Regions from separate parts of the Homo sapiens genome. Here region 2 is linked to region 1. Evidence: promoter capture Hi-C in human tissues and cell types (Jung and others, 2019). All regions are on one chromosome and are shown on one strand. The core of a region is centred on a gene start or on the middle of the fragment in contact, and the rest is flanking DNA. Distances in the headings are between cores, read along the strand shown.

Evidence for each region. Contacts are between HindIII fragments. The study calls those that stand out against the background at their distance.
Region 2: the fragment with the promoter of ZNF653 here is called in contact with a fragment that was not itself captured in region 1 in 1 of the 25 tissues and cell types used here (dorsolateral prefrontal cortex).

Annotation. Positions count from the first base shown.
Region 1 is chr19:12,144,049-12,148,786 of GRCh38, reverse strand. ZNF625 (zinc finger protein 625) reads left to right here. Exons shown (of 4, transcript NM_145233.4): 2 at 985-1,111; 3 at 1,332-1,392; 4 at 2,563-3,897. The coding sequence ends at 3,490. It overlaps ZNF625-ZNF20 (ZNF625-ZNF20 readthrough (NMD candidate)), which reads left to right. Exons shown (of 8, transcript NR_037802.1): 2 at 985-1,111; 3 at 1,332-1,392. Among named protein-coding and RNA genes, the nearest start is that of ZNF20, 6.1 kb to the right of the region's middle. The HindIII fragment of the contact is 6,147 bases long and covers 1-4,738 here.
Region 2 is chr19:11,503,632-11,508,843 of GRCh38, reverse strand. It overlaps ZNF653 (zinc finger protein 653), which reads left to right and starts at 3,005. Exons shown (of 9, transcript NM_138783.4): 1 at 3,005-3,356. The coding sequence starts at 3,058. ECSIT (ECSIT signaling integrator) reads left to right here. Exons shown (of 8, transcript NM_016581.5): 5 at 796-853; 6 at 994-1,142; 7 at 1,282-1,387; 8 at 2,416-2,915. The coding sequence ends at 2,660. RefSeq lists enhancers at 610-1,387, 3,840-3,909 and silencers at 2,810-2,859, 3,020-3,689. The HindIII fragment of the contact is 10,042 bases long and covers 1-5,212 here.

The sequences.
Region 1 (4,738 bases), core at 1,732-4,231:
TAGCCAGGCATGGTGGCGGGCGCCTGTAATCCCAGCTACTTGGGAGGCTGAGGCAGAAAATTGCTTGAACCTGGGAGGCTGAGGTTGCAGTGAGCCAAGATTGTGCCACTGCACTCCAGCCTGTGTGACAGAGTGAGACTCTATCTCAAAAAAAAAAAAAAAATGGTAGTTATATTATTTTTTTCAGGCACCGTCATACTATTCCATAGGGGCTGAGCCATTTACCATCCTTTGGACAGAGCACATGGGGTTCATTTTCTCTCTTGATGGTGTTCTCTTACACCATTTCACACAAAAGTTTTTACATTTGATAAATATTTGCCTTTTTGTTGAGACTGGACACCCTGGAGTTTTTGCCTCTCCAATCTTGTTGCCATTCAACCTCCAGCAATTCATCAGTTATAATTCAGGCTTTTCTACCCAAGCACAGTTTCCAAGAAAGGTTTCTGCTCTTGATTTTTTGTTTTAGTTAGTTATGACTCTTATCAGTCAGATTGGTAGGGCCTCAGCCAGGCTTGGTGGCTCATGCCTGTAATCCCAGCACTTTGGGAGGCCAAGGCTGGTGGATCACTTGTGGTCAGGAGTTGGAGACCAGTCTGGCCAACATGGTAAAACCCCATCTCTACTAAAAATACAAAAATTAGTTGTGCGTGGTGGCAGGCGCCTATAATCTCAGCTACTTGGGAGGCTGAAGCATGAGAATCATTTGAACCTGGGAGGCGGAGGTTGCAGTGAGCCAAGATCATGCCACTGCACTCCCACTTGGGTGACAGAATGAGATTCTGTCTCAAAAAATAATAATAATTAAAAAAAAAGAATTTCTTTATGGAAGAGTGAGTGTTGACAGAGTAAAAAGTCTGATGACCAGATCATGGAATAAATGTTTGGAGTCCATAGCACCATGGAAACTTTGTAGGAATAGAGTATAGGAACCCAGTGCTGTCAGTCTCACCCATGTTTCTTTACACATGTGGGATGTTTCAGGATTCAGTGGTCTTTGAGGATGTAGATGTGAACTTCACCCAGGAGGAGTGGGCTTTGCTGGATCCTTCCCAGAAGAATCTCTACAGAGATGTGATGCAGGAAACCTTCAGGAACCTGGCTTCTGTAGGTAAGGGTAACAATATTACTTTCCTCAGTGAATTAGAGAACAAGTGTTTCTAGCTTGTCAGTAGTGTTGAGTGATTTGGAGTGTGGACAGGGAATAGTGAGGACAGGGAATAGGAATGTGAATAAATGCTGCAAGGCTGCAGTGTACCATGAACTTAGAATCTAGTACTTTTTTCATAATTTTGCTAATTCAGGACTATTTTTCTGGTTCTGTATTTTAGGAAAAAAATGGAAAGATCAGAAAATTGAAGATGAGTACAAAAATCCCAGGAGAAACCTAAGGTAATTCGCATTCACAAGAGAAAGTGATGTCTCTCTAGACAATCATAGAATGGAAGAAAATGTTAAAAAGAAGCAAACAAGAAATAAGCCAAGTTCCACTGTATTTATTCTTACAAAATTTTCTCTAGGGCCGGCTGTGGTGGCTCACGCCTGTAATCCCAGCACTTTGGGAGGCTGAGGCAGGCGGATCACGAGGTCAGGAGATCGAAACCATCCTGGCTAACATGGTGAAACCCTGTCTCTACTAAAAATCCAAAAAAATTAGCCGGGCGTGATGGCGGGCACCTGTAGTCCCAGCTACTTGGGAGGCTGAGGCAGGAGAATGGCATGAACCCGGGAGGCAGAGATTGCAGTGAGCCGAGATCATGCCACTGCACTCCATCCTGGGCGACTGAGCGAGACTCCGTCTCAAAAAAAAAAAAAATCTCTAAAAACATATATTTAAGTGTGACATAGGCTGAACATCCTGGCTTAAGCCTATAATCCAGCCCTTTGGGAGGTTCAGGTCAGAGATTGCTTGAGCTGAAGAGTTTGAGGCTACACTCGGCCATGATAGCACCATTACACTCTAGCCTGGGTTAAAGGGCAAGACCCTGACTCAGAAGCAATAAAATTGACAAAGACAGTTAGTACTTGTAAAATAGTTTACCTGAAAATAGTGTTGGCCGGGCGCCCAGGTGTATGCCTGTAATCCTAATGCTTTAAGAGGCTGAGGTGGGCAGATTGCTTGAGTCTAGGAGTTTGAGACCAGCCAGGGAAATGTGACAAAACCCCATCTCTAGCAAATATACAAAAATTAGCCAGGCACGATGGTATGCTTGTAGCCTCAGGTAATCAGGAGGCTGAAGTGGCAGGACGGCTTCAGATCGGGAGATGGAGGTTGCAGTGAGCTGAGATCTCACCACCGCACTCCAGCCTGGATGACAGAGTGAGACCCTATCTCAAAAAATGTTTAAAAAGTACTAAGAAGCCCTATATCAATATTATCTTTCTTGATAACAGGTATAGCTGGGCCATCTTGTAGAGCATGTGTGGTCTGTTCATGTTCAGACAGGGCAGAAAGCCTACACATTGCTGTACAGTGTTAGAAATACAAGTGCAATGACTTGTTAATGAATATCAAATCAGTGATAAAGGAACCCATTATGATATACTTCTCATTGTTCACAGAGGTCTTATGGGAGAGAGACTCTTAGAAAGTAAGAAAGATCATCAGCATGGAGAAATTTTGACCCAGGTTCCAGATGACATGCTGAAGAAGAAAACTCCCCGAGTAAAATCATGTGGAGAAGTCAGCGTGGGTCATGCATCCCTTAATAGGCACCACAGAGCTGACACTGGACACAAGCCATATGAGTATCAGGAATATGGACAGAAGCCATATAAATGTACATACTGTAAGAAAGCCTTCAGTGATCTCCCCTACTTTCGAACACATGAATGGGCTCACACTGGGGGGAAACCTTATGATTGTGAGGAATGTGGAAAAAGCTTTATTTCCCGTTCAAGCATTCGAAGACACAGGATAATGCACAGTGGAGATGGACCCTACAAATGTAACTTTTGTGGGAAAGCCTTGATGTGTCTCAGTTTGTATCTTATCCACAAACGAACTCACACTGGAGAGAAACCATATGAATGTAAACAGTGTGGTAAAGCCTTTAGTCATTCTGGTAGCCTTCGAATACATGAAAGAACTCACACTGGAGAGAAGCCTTATGAATGCAGTGAGTGTGGGAAAGCATTCCATAGTTCCACATGCCTCCATGCACATAAAATAACTCACACTGGGGAGAAGCCGTATGAATGTAAACAGTGTGGGAAAGCCTTTGTTTCTTTCAATTCCGTTCGATATCATGAAAGAACTCACACTGGAGAGAAGCCCTATGAATGTAAGCAATGTGGGAAAGCCTTCAGATCTGCCTCGCACCTTCGAACACATGGAAGGACTCACACTGGAGAGAAACCCTATGAATGTAAACAATGTGGTAAAGCCTTTGGATGTGCCTCGAGCGTTAAAATCCATGAAAGGACTCACACTGGAGAAAAACCCTGTAGCTCCAACACTTCGAAAGGCCAAGGCGAGAAGATTGCTTAATTCACATAAGATTCCTAGAAGCCACCGAATCCAATCATGGTAAAAATGTGTTTCCCTCAAATCATGGGAACCATCGCAAAATTATTCTGAAGCTTCTGCAGTCACTGTCATTTGACAGCATTCAGAAATAAATGCCAGTAGCCCAGGAGCAAAAATTTTTGGGAGTAGTTTAGCTGGGGCCTCACTCAGATACCTAGGACACAGAGTTGGAAATAACTCTTAAGAGAGACACACCTCCAGTAAGACCTTAAGACAGTTCTGTCATAAAAAAAATACGAGGTTTGGCCGGGTGCAGTGGCTCATGCCTATAATCCCAGCACTTTGGGAGGCCGAGGCAGGCGGACCACGAGGTCAGTAGTTCGAGACCAGCCTGGTCAATATGGTGAAACCCCATCTCTACTAAAAAATACAAAAATTAGCCAGGTGTGGTGGCGCCTGTAGTCCCAGCTACTCAGGAGGCTGAGGCAGGAGAATTGCTTGAATACAGGAGGTGGAGGTTGCAGTGAGCTAAGATTGCGCCACTGCACTCCAGCCTGGGTGACAGAGTGAGACTCCGTCTCAAAATAATAATAATAATAATAAGGTTAGCCCAGCAAAGTGGCAGGTATATATATACAGGAAGGTCAGAAAAATCTTTTCCCTCCTATTGAAAGCCCAATACCTAAGTGGCAAGCCCTCATTTTAAGAAACTCACTAAAGGGATAACGGAAGTGCCATTGTCAGACTCACTGCCTCAGAAAGCTTTATCAAAACAAAAGGCTAAAGTTCCTATTCAAAAATATCCTATAATAAATGGCTGGCTATCGGGTACACTACGTATTTTATGCCATTCGTTCTCACGAGTTTTCTTTTTTTTTTTTTTTGAGACAGAGTCGGGCTCTGTCTCCCAGGCTGGAGTGCAGTTGCACATTCTCAGCCCACTGCAACCTCTGCCTCCTGGGTTCAAGCGATTCTTCTGCCTCAGTCTCCCGAGTAGCTGGCTTTACAGGCATGAGCCACCATGCCCAGCCTCTAAACTCTTTTTTTTTTTTTTTTTTTTTTTTTTTTTTTTTTTTGAGACAGAGTCTCACTCTGTTGCCCAGGCTGGAGTGTGTTGGTGTGAGCTCGGCTCAGTGCAACTTCCACCTCCTGGCTTCCCGGGTAGCTGGGATTACGGGCACCCACCACCACGCTAGGCTAATTTTTTATATTTTTAGTAGAGACAGGATTTCACCATGTTGGTCAGACTGGTCTTAAACTCCTGACCTC
Region 2 (5,212 bases), core at 1,756-4,255, 640 kb after region 1:
TTAGGTTCATGCCCATAATCCTAGTGCTTTGGGAGGCCAAGGCAGGCGGATCACCTGAGGCCAGGAATTTGAGACCAGCCAGGCCAACATAGCAAAACCCTATCTCTACTAAAAATACAAAAAATTAGCCGGGCATGGTGGCAGGCGCCTGTAGTCCCAGCTACTTGGGAGGCCGACGCAGGAGAATCGCTTGAACCCAGGAGGCGGAGGCTATAGTGAGCCGAGATCATGCCATTGCACTCCAGCCTGGGTAATGAGCAAAACTCCATTTCAAAAATTAAAAAAATAAAATTAGCCAGGCATAGTGGTGTGCACCTGTAGACCCAGCTACTTGGGAGACTGAGGTAGGAAGATCACTTGAGCCCAGGAGTTCAAGGCTACAGTGAGCTATGATCATGCCACCATTCTCCAGCATGGATGACAGAGAGGGAGACCCCCATCCCTAAAAAAAAAAAAAAAATCGGAATTAAGTGCTGTTATCATCCCTATTGTGCATCTGGAGAAACTGAGGCACACAGGTACAGTGACTTGGCCAAGGTCACACAGCTTGTGACAGAGCCAGGATTTTGACAAAGGTGGGCTGGTTCTAGGGTAGTTCCCTCAGGGTGAGCATCCTAAAGATTGGTGGTTATTGCCAAATGGGACAGAGGGAGGAGGGGACAGGTTGGAGGGCCGTGTACCAGATCCAGGAGAGGTGTCCTGAATTCCCTGGTATCCCCCTTTCTGTTTCTCTGTCCCCAGTTCCTCTGTAGGGGATTGGGGGTTACAAGATTATATCCCTACTCTCCCTTGCAGGTTCCTTTGCCCAAAGACTCAACAGGTGCAGCAGATCCCCCCCAGCCCCACATCGTAGGTAAGTCCGAGAGCATGGGGGCAGCCAAGTCTCTAACCTTACCCAGGCCCTGCCAGGTTCTCGCTGGGCCTAGGCTGGGCTCCCTGGGCCTCTGGGCCGAGTCCCTTGCAGGGCACAGGGCATGTATGTCTCCACACCAGGAATCCAGAGTCCCGATCAGCAGGCCGCCCTGGCCCGCCACAATCCAGCCCGGCCTGTCTTTGTTGAGGGCCCCTTCTCCCTGTGGCTCCGCAACAAGTGTGTGTATTACCACATCCTCAGAGCTGACTTGCTGCCCCCGGAGGAGAGGGTGAGGGCTTAAAGCAAAGCATGTGTTGGGGCTGGGGAGTGGGCTGGCACTACCCTGAGGGTGCATGGGAGAGGCTGGAGGAGGGAGACCGAGAGAGCCCTGGCCTCTGACCCCGCCTGCACTCCCCACCTTGGAGTAGGAAGTGGAAGAGACGCCGGAGGAGTGGAACCTCTACTACCCGATGCAGCTGGACCTGGAGTATGTGAGGAGTGGCTGGGACAACTACGAGTTTGACATCAATGAAGGTAAAAACTGGGCCAGGTGCGGTGGCTCACATGTGTGCTCGTAATCCCAGCCCTCCTACAGGCTGAGGTGGGAGGATCACTTGAGCCCAGGAGTTGAGGTTGCAGTGAACTATTATAGAGCCACTGCACTCCAGCCTACATGATAGACCCTGTGTCAAAAAAAAAAAAAAAAAAGGCAAAAACCTGGACAGGCAGGACTTCCAAACATTCCAAACACCACCCAGGATGAGGGGCGGCCTCTGGGGTCAAGGGGTAGGCCCAGGCTGAGACGCAGTCCACTTACACCCTCGTCCTCCGGCCGCACACACTCATTTGCCCCAGGGGCTCCAGACCTGAGGTCACCCAGCCCTGTTGGCCCTTGTTCATTCCCTCCCTCCTACAACTCTGTGCTGGCTACTGGGTGTCACCAGGACAAACCTAGTCCCTCGAGTCAGCAAGGGAACAGGCAAATTACACTTTGGGGAGCTTAGGAGAGGAGCATGCCTTGAGTGGGGGGTCAGGAGGCCTTCCTGGCAGAATACAGAAAAACCAGGAGTCATCGCCCGGGTGAAGTGTGGAGTGGGCAGCCTAGGCAGCGGGGCTAGCTTGTGCAAAGGTTTGGAGGCACAAGAAAGTGGAAGGAAGCCGGGCACAGTGGCTCACGCCTGTAATCCCAGCACTCTGGGAGGCTGAGGCGGGTAGATCATTTGAGGTCAGGAATTCGAGACCAGCCTGGCCAACATGGTGAAACCCCATCTCTACTAAAAATTTAAAAATTAGCCCGGCGTGGTGCTGTGCACCTGTAATCCCAGCTCCTCGGGAGGCCGAGGCAGGAGAATCACTTGAACCTGGGAGGCGGATGTTGCAGTGAGCCGAGATCTCGCCACTGCACTCCAGCCTGGGTGACACAGCGAGACTCCGTCTCAAAAAAAAAAAAAAAAAAAAAAAGGAAGTGGAAGGGAGTGTAAAATACCTCAAAAAGGTGTAGGCATGGGTTAGCCGCTGCAGCCCCCACTGTGCAAACCTTAAGGGTGCATGTCTTCCAACAGTGGAGGAAGGCCCTGTCTTCGCCATGTGCATGGCGGGTGCTCATGACCAGGCGACGATGGCTAAGTGGATCCAGGGCCTGCAGGAGACCAACCCAACCCTGGCCCAGATCCCCGTGGTCTTCCGCCTCGCCGGGTCCACCCGGGAGCTCCAGACATCCTCTGCAGGGCTGGAGGAGCCGCCCCTGCCCGAGGACCACCAGGAAGAAGACGACAACCTGCAGCGACAGCAGCAGGGCCAGAGCTAGTCTGAGCCGGCGCGAGGGCACGGGCTGTGGCCCGAGGAGGCGGTGGACTGAAGGCATGAGATGCCCTTTGAGTGTACAGCAAATCAATGTTTTCCTGCTTGGGGCTCTCTTCCCTCATCTCTAGCAGTATGGCATCCCCTCCCCAGGATCTCGGGCTGCCAGCGATGGGCAGGCGAGACCCCTCCAGAATCTGCAGGCGCCTCTGGTTCTCCGAATTCAAATAAAAAGGGGCGGGAGCGCTGTTGGTTGTGCGCATGCGCAGTTTCCATTCTTGGTCTCCTTTTGGCGCCCTGGGGCAGCGAGAGACCGTGAGAAATTTCTCGGCGGCGCCGAAGATGCGCGCCACTTCCGGTCTGGCTCCTAACAACGGGGGAGGCTGGTAACCAGGGTGGGGGGGATGGCGGAGCGGGCGCTAGAGCCCGAGGCGGAGGCGGAGGCTGAGGCGGGCGCGGGCGGGGAGGCAGCAGCCGAGGAGGGCGCAGCGGGCCGAAAGGCGCGGGGCCGGCCGCGACTCACGGAGTCGGACCGGGCCCGGCGACGGCTCGAGTCCCGGAAGAAGTACGACGTGCGGCGCGTGTACCTGGGCGAGGCGCACGGGCCCTGGGTGGACCTGCGGCGCCGCAGCGGCTGGAGCGACGCCAAGCTCGCCGCCTACCTCATCTCTCTGGAGCGCGGCCAGCGGAGCGGCCGCCACGGGTGAGGGGGCCTGGCCCCGAGGGAGGGAGGGAGGAGACGCCCCCAGACCCCGCCGGGCTTTACCCCGCCCCCTCCGCTTCTAGGGCCAGCCCCCGGCACCTGCGGACCCCGCCCAGGAGCCGGGCCGGCGGCCTGGGTCTCGTACTGCCTGGCCGGGACGCGCCTGGCTCGTGGCCCCGCCTCCCATCGTTCCGACTGCCCAATCCTAGGGTGCACCCAGCCCCTCGACCCGCCTTCTGAGCGCTTGGCCCCGCCCGCTAGAACTCTGGCGGCCCAATCCTGGGACTGGCCCCACCTCCAGGCCTTGTAACTAACCAGGCCCTGGGGGGGCAGCCCCGCCCCCTCACCGGTCTCATCCTCCCCCGCTTAGTTCCCCACCTGGCCTGGGACTCTGGACACCCTGGGGCACTCAGCCCTGCCCTTCTTGAAGTTCTGGTGCCCCATCTGGGACTCCGTATGGCCCCATTCCCACAACCCTAGATCCAACACATCCGGGGGACCCTTCACAACCTGGACTGCACTCCCCTAAACCTATTTCTGTGAAGCAACTCAGCCCAGGGAGACTCGGATGAAGAGGAAACCCCTAGTTAGCTTGGCAGGTGGAGGGCAGAGAGGCCTGTCTTTGTAAATTCTCAGTCTTGAGAAGGAGCAGTGTGGATGGAGTTTTTCCCTTCCTGCCTTATATGTTGATGTGATGATTGAGTTAAAATAGGCAAAGAGCTTAGAAGAGTGCCTGGCAGGTAGTGGGTTCCCTAAGTATTAACTTTTACGAGGATGACGTTTATTCCGTATCACAAGCAGTGCCGCAAGGAAATCCTTGTTCTGCCCTGGTTTTCAGGTACACATGTTCTCATGTTTCTCTGGGGGGAGATTCTGAGAGTCAAGAATCAAACAGATCCTGCTAAGTTATACCCACCCCTTTCCCAGGACAGCAGGCTGGCTTATATGCTCAAGAGCAGGACTGGAAATGCTGGGAGCGCAAAGATACCTGCCTCATGGAGCGGACATTCTGGTGGGCAGAGGGGATGGCTTGTTCAAAGGTCTGGGGGGTTTTTTTGTTCGTTTTTCTTTTCTTTTCTTTTTTTTTGAGACAGAGTCTTGCTCTGTCGCCCAGGCTGGAGTGCAGTGGCACGATCTCCGTTCACTGCAAGCTCCGCCTCCCGGGTTCACGCCATTCTCCTGCCTCAGCCTCCCAAGTAGCTGGGACTGCAGCCGCCCGCCACCACGCCCGGCTAATTTTTTGTATTTTTAGTAGAGACAGGGTTTTACTCTGTTAGCCAGGATGGCCTCGATCTCCTGACCTCGTGATCCACCCGCCTCGGCCTCCCAAAGTGCTGGGATTACAGGCGTGAGCCACCGCGCCCGGCCCTCGTTTTTCTTTTTGAGACAGGGTCTCACTCTCTCGCCCAGAGTGGAATGCAGTGGCATGATCACGGCTTACTGCAGCCTCAACCTCGTGGGTTCAAGTGATCCTCTTACCTCCGCCTCCTGAGTAGTTGGGACCACAGGTGCACGTCACTCCACCTGGCTAATTTTTGTATTTTTTGTAGAGACAGAGGTTTCCCTGTGTTGCCCAGGCTGATTTCAAACTCCTAGGCTCAAGTGATTCTCCGGCCTCAGCCTCTCAAAGTGCTGGGATTACAGGTGTAAGCCATTGTGCCCAGCCCTGTTTGTTTGTTCTTGAGACAGGGTCTCACTTTGTCACCCAGGCCAGAGTACAGTGGCATGTTCATAGCTCACAGCAGCCTCAACCTCCCAGGCTCAAGGGATCCTCCTGCCTCAGTCTCCCAAGTAGCTGGGACTACAGAGGAGCCACCTCACCTGGCTAATTTTTTAATTTTTCATGGAGATGGGGG